Linked DNA regions of Homo sapiens: region 2 is linked to region 1. Evidence: promoter capture Hi-C in human tissues and cell types (Jung and others, 2019). All regions are on one chromosome and are shown on one strand. Each heading gives the region's core, a stretch centred on a gene start or on the middle of the fragment in contact. The rest is flanking DNA. Distances are from core to core; before and after follow the strand shown. Region 1 holds the start of YKT6 (YKT6 vesicular SNARE protein). Region 2 has its middle 9.9 kb from the start of URGCP-MRPS24.

Region 1 (5,191 bases), core at 843-3,342:
ATGGTTTTAGGTCTAACATGTAAGTCTTTAATCCATCTTGAATTAATTTTTGTATAAGGTGTAAGGAAGGGATCCAGTTTCAGCTTTCTACATATGGCTAGCCAGTTTTCCCAGCACCATTTATTAAATAGGGAATCCTTTCCCCATTGCTTGTTTTTGTCAGGTTTGTCAAAGATCAGATGCTTGTAGATATGCGGCATTATTTCTGAGGGCTCTGTTCTGTTCCATTGCTCTATATCTCTGTTTTGGTACCAGTAGCATGCTGTTTTGGTTACTGTAGCCTTGTAGTATAGTTAGAAGTCAGGTAGTGTGATGCCTCCAGCTTTGTTCTTTTGGCTTAGGATTGACTTGGCAATGCGGGCTCTTTTTTGGTTCCATATGAACTTTAGTTTTTTCCAATTCTGTGAAGAAAGTCATTGGTAGCTTGATAGGGATGGCATTGAATCTATAAATTACCTTGGGCAGTATGGCCATTTTCACGATACTGATTCTTCCTACCCATGAGCATGGAATGTTCTTCCATTTGTTTGTATCCTCTTTTATTTCATTGAGCAGTCGTTTGTAGTTCTCCTTGAAGAGGTCCTTCACATCCCTTGTAAGTTGGATTCCTAGGTATTTTATTCTCTTTGAAGCAATTGTGAATGGGAGTTCACTCATGATTTGGCTCTCTGTCTGTTATTGGTGTATAAGACTGCTTGTGATTTTTGCACATTGATTTTGTATCCTGAGACTTTGCTGAAGTTGCTTATCAGCTTAAGGAGATTTTGGGCTGAGACGATGGGGTTTTCTAGATATACAATCATGTCATCTGCAAACAGGGACAATTTGACTTCCTCTTTTCTTAATTGAATACCCTTTATTTCCTTCTCCTACCTGATTGCCCTGGCCAGAACTTCCAACACTATGTTGAAAAGGAGTGGTGAGAGAGGGCATCCCAGTCTTGTGCCAGTTTTCAAAGGGAATGCTTCCAGTTTTTGTCCATTCAGTATGATATTGGCTGTGGGTTTGTCATAGATAGCTCTTATTATTTTGAGATACGTCCCATCAATACCTAATTTATTGAGAGTTTTTAGCATGAGGGTTGTTGAATTTTGTCAAAGGCCTTTTCTGCATCTATTGAGATAATCATGTGGTTTTTGTCTTTGGTTCTGTTTATATGCTGGATTACGTTTACTGATTTTCGTATGTTGAACCAGCCTTGCATCCCAGGGATGAAGCCCACTTGATCATGGTGGATAAGCTTTTTGATGTGTTGCTGGATTCGGTTTGCCAGTATTTTACTGAGGATTTTTGCTTCAATGTTCATCAAGGATATTGGTCTAAAATTCTTTTTTTGTTGTGTCTCTCTCTGCCACCCTTTGGTATCAGGATGATGCTGGCCTCATAAAATGAGTTAGGGAGGATTCTCTCTTTTTCTTTTGATTGGAATAGTTTCAGAAGGAATGGTACAAGCTCCTCCTAAAATGTGGCACATATACACCATGGAATACTATGCAGCCATAAAAAATGATGAGTTCATGTCCTTTGTAGGGACATGGATGAAGCTGGAAACCATCATTCTCAGCAAACTATTGCAAGGACAAAAAACCAAACACCGCATGTTCTCACTCATAGGTGGGAATTGAACAATAAGAACACATGGACACAGGAAGGCGAACATCACACACCGGGGACTGTTGTGGGGTGGGGGGAGGGGGGAGGGATAGCATTAGGAGATATACTTAATGCTAAATGACGAGTTAATGGGTGCAGCACACCAACATGGCACATGTATACATATGTAACAAACCTGCACGTTGTGCACATGTACCCTAAAACTTAAAGTATAATAATAAAAAAAATGCTTACTTTAAAAAAAGAAAGAAAAGAAAAAAAAAAAAAAGAAGGGTTCAGGCCGCTGTGGGAGGCCCAGCACCACCCAGCACAAGACAGTACGGTATCCCGCCGCGCGCCCGACTCCACCTGGCGAGCAGGGAGGGGCCAAGCTTACGCGAGGCGTGGCATCCCGCCCCTCGCTGCATTGTACTTCCGGGCTCACATTTCTGCATCCGGAGTATGAGAACCCTCAACCAGGCTGACCGGATCCGGAAGTGGATTGCGAGCCAGGAGGAGGAAGCCGGCGGTGGCCCCGTCAGCAGCCGGCTGCTGAGAGGCCGGTAGGCGGCGGCGGTCCCGAGGGGCGGCGGCCGCGCTGCTCCCTGAGAACGGGTCCCGCAGCTGGGCAGGCGGGCGGCCTGAGGGCGCGGAGCCATGAAGCTGTACAGCCTCAGCGTCCTCTACAAAGGCGAGGCCAAGGTGGTGCTGCTCAAAGCCGCATACGATGTGTCTTCCTTCAGCTTTTTCCAGAGATCCAGGTGAGCGGCACAGGCTGGTGGGCCGTGGCGGTCGGGCGGAGAGGACTGGGGTGGGGGTCCGAGTCGGAGTGGGCCTGGGGTCGGCGGAGGGATGAGGGGAGGGTGGAGGAGGCCAAGGGTAGGGGCAGGGCGGGGTGGCCGAGTGCCCGGGGTCTGAGAAGGCTGGTGTCCGAGTCAGAGGCGGGGCGGGGTGGGGAGGGCCCGGGGTCTGCTGTCCGGGCTTGGTCTCCTATAATGGAATCTGGCCGTGGACTCTACCTTTGAGGAACCAACATTAGCTCTTTAAGAGCTTATACCATTCTAGAATATAGTTCTCTACTCAGTGTTTTTCAAATTTCTGTCGTGTAAAAATTTTAAGGAGACTGTGAAGTAGTGCAGATTTCCAAGCTTCATGCCAAGATGTTCTGAATTAGTAGATTGAGGCCTCGGTATTTATATTTTAGACCAACACTTCCCACCCAGTGATTCTGACTCTGGGAGCTTGGGTGCCGCATCTTGAGAGCCATATTTTGATTTTCTTGCGGGGCTTCCCAACAATTCTGTATGAGAGATAGTGATATACTTTTTTTTGTTTGTTTTTAATGGGTGAAGTCACTGAGGTACCAAGAGGTTATATCACAACCAGCTAGAACTGAAAGCCAGGTTTAACGCTTTTTAGTTGGACACTAGTGGTACAAAAGGATTCCACACGGAAGATGCAAATGAAGCATGGGATCTGTAGGGCTTACAGGCTTTTACTTGTTTCTGGGGCGCTTTAATTGCTGGAACGTGTTAGAAGTAACACAGACACTTCCAGACCATTCGTGGGAGGGATTGGGGTGACTCAGGCACGAAAGAAGGAGGACCCTACATGGTCGGTATCTATGGTCATCTTGTCTCAAAATCTGATGGAATCTGCCGTTTGGATTCTGTTTTCCCTGCTTCAGTGCAGCTGGTTCTTGATGAGAGTTCTTTGCCAAGGACTTGCTGGATGTAAAAAAAAAAAAATGTTATTTTGTTGAAACTTTCTGCTTCTTTGAGTTCTTTTAAAAAAATATTTTTAATTGTGGTAAAATGGTACACAAAATTTATCTTCACTATCTTTAAGCGTGTAGTGAGTGCATTGATATGAAATAGATTGATAGTGTTGTGCAGCCATCACTGTCAATCGTCTCCAGAACTCCTTTTTATCAAATTCGTGTCTATTAAACACATTCCCTTCTCCCCCAGCCCATGGCAACTGCCATTCTAATTTGTCTCTGTGATTTTGACTTTTCTGGCGACCTTAGATAAATGGAATCATATAGTTTTTGTGTGTCTGGCTTATTTCATGTAGCATAATGTCCTCAAGGCTCATGCATCTTGTTGCATATATCAGAATTTCTTTCCTTTTTAAGGCTGAATAATCCATTGTATTATTCACCACATTTTGCTTATCTGTTCATCTGTCAGTGGACACCTGGGTTGCTTCCACATTTCAGCCATTGTGAATGATACTGCTATGAACATGGATGTACAAATATCTCTTCAAGACCCTGCTCGCATTTTTTTGGTATTTACCCAGAAGCGGAATTGCTGCATTATCTTTTAGCTCCTTCTTGGGGTTCTTGGTCTTTGCAGTCTTTACCATGGCCTACATTCACTGCTCTGTGTTGTTGCTTTTCTCAGATGGAACTTTTGGTGCCAACTTGGCTCTGATTCTTTTTCCTTTTTCCTTCCCATTAGTACTTAAGATTCTCAGAGATTTCACTTGTAGGACTTATACCTCACCTGCTTGGGATGCCCACACTAGTTTCCAATGACTAACAGCTGCAACACTAAAGGGACATCTCTACTAATATGTCTTAAAACAACACATGTCCCAGCTGATTTATTTATTTATTTATTTTATTTTAGATGGAGTCTTGCTCTGTCACCCAGGCTGGAGTGCAGTGGCACAGTGTCAGCTCACTGCAACCTCCGCCTCCTGGGTTCAAGTGATTCTCCTGCCTCAGCCTCCCAAGTAGCTGGGATTACAGGCGCGCACCACCACACCCGGCTAATTTTTGTATTTTTAGTAGAGATGGGGTTTTACCATGTTAGCCAGGCTGGTCTCGAACTCCTGAGCTCAAGTGATCCGCCTGCCTTGGCCTCCCAAAGTGCTAGGATTACAGGCTTGAGCCACCACGTCCGGCCTGAGCTTGTTTTCTTATAAGACCGCTTTACTTACGTCCTTTGTGCCCTATAATTACCCGATTCCAAAGTTGAAAAAGTAGTTTCCCAGCTTTTTTGGTCTTTGTATACATGCTGTCACAATGCAGTTCTTCCTTTGTCTCTTTATAGCCGTGTCTCAAATGCTGTCTCTAGGTTTACTGCAAAGCCTTCCTTGTTTGAGGTCTTCTTTTCTGAGGGGTTATTTTGATCACTTCAGTCCCTCAAGATATTAACAAGTAATACTGTGTGTGCAGGCATTGTTCCAAGTGCTTTACACGTATTACCTCGTTTAACTGTTGCACAAATCTTGATTTTTTTAATGTGGAGGCACAGCACACAGGCCCAGAGTCAGGCCTTCAGTTACCTATATGGCTCTGCTGGAGCCTGCTGCAGACTCCCATTTGAGCACCCTGCTTTGATGGCCCTGGTTGCCCTTTATATCACATCCTCAGTTGGAGGCTCCTTGTCAGCACCTCTTCCTCTGGCTGTACCATCTCCTGTGACTGTTCTGTTCTGGATAGATCTCTCTGTTGAGCCCATGATGGACCTTCTCCCTTTCACCCTTTGTATGAGCCATTTCCCACTTCTTTGTCTTGGATGAGCAGTTTTCCTTTTGTTCCATCCAGAGTGTCTTGCGCTCGTTCTGTGGACGAGCCCCAGCAGAC
Region 2 (5,191 bases), core at 1,562-4,061, 280 kb before region 1:
TGGCCAGGCTGGTCTTGAACTCCTACCCTCAAGTGATCCACCTGCCTTGGCCTACCAAAGTCCTGGTATTATAGGTGTGAGCCACTGCACCTGGCCTATTTTATTTGTTTTTTTATAGAGACTATCTTGCTCTGTCACTCAGGCTGGAGTGCAGTGGCGTGATATTAGCTCAAGCTGATTTCTTGGGCTCAAGCAATCCTTTGGCCTCAGCTCCCTAAGTAGCTGGTACTACAGGTGCTTGCCACCACACCTGGCTAATTTTTGTATGTTTTGTAGAGACGGGTTTTGCCAGGGTGGCTTTTGAAAGTTTAATTATGGCTGGGTGTGGTGGCTCACACCTGTAATCCCAGCACTTTGGGAGGCTGAGGTGGGGTGGATTGCTTGAGCCCAGGAGCTTGAGATCAGCCTGGGAAACATGGTAAAACCGCATCTCTAACCACCCTCAAAAAAAATTTAGCCGGGTATGCTAATGCATGTCTGTAGTCCTAACTACTTGGGTGCCTGAGGTGAGAGCATCTCTTGAGCCTGGGAGATGGAGGTTGCAGTGAGCCAAGATCATACCACTGTACTCCAGCCTGGGTGGCAGGATGAGAGTGTCTCAAAAAAATAAAAAATAAGAGTTTAATTATGTGTCAGTGTGGATCTCCTCTCTGAGTTCATCTCACTTGTGTTAGAGGCATTTGAATCACAGCAACTCCATCTTGAATAGAGGCTGAGTAAAATAAGGCTGAGACCTACTGGACTGCATCCCCAGATGGTTTTGTTCCTCAGATTTGGTAATTTCCATTGTTCTATCTCCAAGTTCACAGATTCTTTTCTCTGTTCAAATTTGCTTTGAATCCCTCCAGTGCATTTTTTATTTGTTATTATACTTTTCAGCTCCAGAATTATTTTTCGGTTTCTTTGTAGGTTTTCTATCTCTTTACTGATACTACTGATAGAGATAGGAGACAGCCATATGCCGCACAGGTCATGGTGCACAGGGTACTTCCCTAAACATGCCCATGGTGAAAAATTCTGTCCCTTAACACAAATGCAGTAAGGGAAATCAATGTGGAGTGGCTCAGACTAACGGCCCGCATGCGCACTGAAGAATGGGGGTGGAGCCACCAGGAATTCACCCCTTATGCTGGGAGAGGAGCCTGGCCTCTTCAGCTCATGTGTGTTGGCCTGGTATTCAATCTGTGAGGTGGGAGCCTGTTGGCAGGACCCTCTCTTTTTTGCTGAGATGAGAGCTTTCTTTTAATAAATTCTGCTCTCCTCACCTTTCACAGGTGTCTGTGTGCCTAATTTTTCCTAGTTGTGAGACAAGAACCCAGATTTAGTGGAGCTAAGGAGCAAAAAATCCTGCATCATTTTGGTGGCCCATACAGGGACATGAGGAGGGATGAGTAAAATGCACACCAAAAAAATCTGTTTCCCTTTCCTTTTTGAGCTTTCTTGTCCTCAGCCTTCTTCTGAGGATAGAGGAAACTGCACCCCCTCACCCCATTGCTCTCAGGGACTGGGAATGTCAGCCTTGGTCCAACTCAGCCTTTTCTATGGCATTTTCCTTCTGTTTGCAGGACTGTAATGGCACTTATCTTTTACAATATTGGGGGTATTCCACCCCCACCTCAATGGCTGCAGATGCATGCATGGGACGGACAGGCAAGTGGTGGCTCCCTGCCCCTCCCAGCTGGGGCTGGGGCTCATGGCCCAAGGGCCCCATGCAGCTGTCTGTCCAGTGTTCCACACCACATACCATGGAGTCTTCCCCTCCTCCTGCTGAGGGGTCCAGCTCAGTCCAAACCCCAGGGTAGAAACAGCAATTAAAAGTTTCTTGGCCAGGCGCAATGGCTCATGCCTGTAATCCCAGCACTTTGGGAGGCTGAGGCGGGCAGATCACCTGAGGTCAGGAGTTTGAGACTAGCCTGGCCAACATGGTGAAACCCCGTCTCTACTAAAAATACAAAAATTAGCCGGGCATGGTGGCATGCACCTGTAATCTCAGCTACTCGGGAGGCTGAGGCAGGAGAATCACTTGAACCTGGGAGGTGGAGGCTGGAGTGAGCCAAGATTGTGCCACTGCACTGCAGCCTGGGCAACAACAGTGAAACTCCATCTTAAAAAAAAAAAGTTTCTCTCCCTGTTGGAGAAACTCATTTGCATAAGAATAAAAGGTTTGTTCTCCGGGCATCTTTTTCTTTTCTCCATCCTGTCAGCAGTTAACAAAGCCCTGCATTTACGCTGTTTTTCTTTTCCTTTTCTCCACCAGGCCAGGAATAGGTTGGTGCAAAAGTAGTTGCAGTTTTTGCTATTACTTAGAACGGCGAGGACTGTGACTGTTTTTGCACCAACCCAATAACATGGCCCTGCAAGTAGAGGGGGCTTCTCTACGCTACAGGCTTTTTTCCTTTTAGAAGATGTTTTACTCAGCCAGGATCCCAACTCAGAAGACACCCCTTTTCTCTCCCTTGTTGGAGAAGGACTCAATTCCACAGCTTGACCTTAGCATTCAGCTTGGTAAGGAGTCCATGCAACATCCTGAGGCAGTTATTTTGACCCAAACTCAATTCCAAGCTTTGGATCGAAGCCCTAGGAAAGAAAACTGGATCTGAGGGATCCAGAGGCAGACGACAACAGAAGTGAAAAGGTACAGCACAGGTAAGCATGACTAATTTCTGCGGATTAAGCCAAGCCTCATTTCATGGATAAAGGTCATGCTAGTATCCATGGCATAAATGAGGTCTAGGGAATGCAAAGGCTATTGACAACAGAGAAGATAAGGCATATATGGGTAAGAGCAGATAATCCCACTCCCTACCCACCCCCCCCCCCCACATAACATGGGTGAAAGCCACTTTGACACCCATGGGAGGCATCCTGTCATGGTTGCCGGGACTCAGGGATACAAGGACAAAAGAAAGAGGGACGCCTTGCTTTCTCTCCCTCATGTACCTCGGGTATTTGCTAGGAAGAGAAGGGAACCAGGGACGCCTTGCTCCCCTCTTTCTAGATGAGTAGGCATACATCTTTCAAATGCATCCTGAGTCCTGGGGCTCCTTTAAATAAATGCCTTCTTATTCCTTTCTCCTCCTCTGTCCTCTCTTTACAGATGGGTGATTGTGTCCCCATGCTGTGGGATGCTCTCCTGGGATGTATCCTCCAAACTGGGAGAAGTTAATTTCCTAAACCTTAAACTGGTTGGCTTGGGATTGAGCTCAGCAGGGAGGGAACTCAGAAGCCTGACATGTCAGCAAAAGGGTAGGAGTTTTTTTGTTTTTTGTTTTAACCAGTCAGGATTTTGACCTCTGTCTCCCTAAACAAACCAGAAAGGGAATGATAAGGATCACTGTTTATATTATCTGTAAAGTTTTAATTAATAAAAAAGGATTTGTGAGGTTGGTCTTAAGCTGTAGCCAAGCTGGTGTGCTCTGCATGTCTCTCCGTATAGTTCTGTCAGAAAGAGGGGTACCTTGGGATGGGATGTGGGTCTAGGACTCCATAGGCCTGCTGTTGAAGCAAGCCCAGCAAACTGGCCAGTGGCAAACTTTGCTGCAGGCCTCCATCTGGTTTTACGTCCTTGGAAGCGTGACCTGTAACCACATGGCAGTGCTTTGTTTTAGCTTCTGCCATTTTACAGTGGCAGCCCGGGTTCAATCCTGGCTTAGGGAATGAGTCCTTTCTGGCTTGATATCTTTGTGACCTTTATCATTTGTTGATTCTCTTCCCCTTCATGAACCACCTTAAATTTTCCTTTCTCTGAACACCTGGGAGGTTACCTTTGGTAATGTTCAGAAGCCAGAAATATTGGCTGCTTGGCATGGCTAATGTTGGGTAATAAAGGATTTAAAAGGATTTTCTTGGCCAGGTGTGGTGGCTCATGCCTATATTCCAGCAACATAGTGAGACCCTGTCTCTATAAAAAATAAAAAATTGGCTGGGCATGGTGGCATGTAGTCCCAGCTACCCAGGAAGCTGAGGAGGGAGGGTTGCTTGAATCCAGGAGGTTGAGGCTGCAGTGAGCCATGATTGTGCCCTGTATTCCAGCCTGGGTGACAGAGCAAGACCGTCTCAAAAAACAAAACAAAACAAAACAAAAAACACAGCTGGGCATAGTGGTTCACGCCTGTAATCCCAGCACTTTGGGAGGCTGAGGCAAGTGGATCACTTGAGGTCAGGAGTTCTAGACCATCCTGGGCAACATGGCGAAACCCTGTCTCTACTAAAAATACAAAAATTAGTTGGGCATGGTGGTGGGTGCCTGTAATCCCAGCTACTCAGGAGGCTGATGCAGGAGAATCACTTGAACCCAAAAAGCAGAGGTTTCAGTGAGTGGAGATCACACTGCTGCACTCCAGCCTGGGCAATAGACCTCAAAAAAAAAAAAAAAAAAAGAAAGAAAAAAAGGATTTCCTTTCCCTTTCCTTTCCCTTCTCCTTTCCCTTTCCTTTCTTTTCTTTTTTAGATGGAGTCTTGCTGTGTTGCCCAGGCTACAGTGCAGTGGCATGATCTTGCCTCACTGCAACCTCCGCCTCCTGGGTTCAAGTGATTTCCAGCTAATTTTTGTATTTTTAGTAGAGATGGGGTTTCACCATGTTGGCCAGGCTGGTCTTGAACTCCTGACCTCAAGTGATCCGCCCACTTCGGCCTCCCAAAGTGCTAGGATTACAGACATGAGTCACCACACCCAGACCCCAAAATAGGATTTTCTTAAAGAGCGCTCAGCTTAATTAAAAGTGGATATCTGGGGGGCTGGCACGCGGCAGCGTTGCGGGTGGGAGCGGCTGCAACTCTGGTGCCTGAGGAGCGATACCAAGAGAAATCATCACCCACAATTGGGCCAGTGCAGCAATCAGATTGGGTTCGAGTTCTGGAAACAGCTGTGCACTGAGCATGGTATCAGCCCCAAGGGCACCATGGAGGAGTTCGCTACTGAGGGCACTGACCACAAGGACATCTTTTTCTACCAGGCAGACGATGAGCACTACATCCCCCGGGCTGTGCTGCTGGACCTGGAGCCCCAGGTGATCCACTCCATCCTCAACTCCCCCTGTGCCAAGCTCTACAACCCAGAGAACATCTACCTGTCGGAGCATGGGGGAAGAGCTGGCAACAACTGGGCCAGCAGATTCTCCCAGAGGGAGAAGATCCATGAGGACATTTTTAACATCACAGACCAGGAGGCAGATGGTAGTGACAATCTAGA

Evidence for each region. The method cuts DNA at HindIII sites, captures the fragments that hold promoters and counts their contacts. A contact is called where the count stands out against the background at its distance.
Region 2: a fragment that was not itself captured here is called in contact with the fragment with the promoter of YKT6 in region 1 in 1 of the 25 tissues and cell types used here (spleen).

The regions. Positions count from the first base shown.
Region 1 is chr7:44,198,886-44,204,076 of GRCh38, forward strand. It overlaps YKT6 (YKT6 vesicular SNARE protein), which reads left to right and starts at 2,093. Exons shown (of 7, transcript NM_006555.4): 1 at 2,093-2,354. The coding sequence starts at 2,251. RefSeq lists a silencer at 2,200-2,269. The HindIII fragment of the contact is 4,070 bases long and covers 1,613-5,191 here.
Region 2 is chr7:43,913,903-43,919,093 of GRCh38, forward strand. It overlaps a transcript of URGCP not described here and the pseudogene TUBG1P. Among named protein-coding and RNA genes, the nearest start is that of URGCP-MRPS24, 9.9 kb to the left of the region's middle. The HindIII fragment of the contact is 8,195 bases long and covers 1-5,191 here.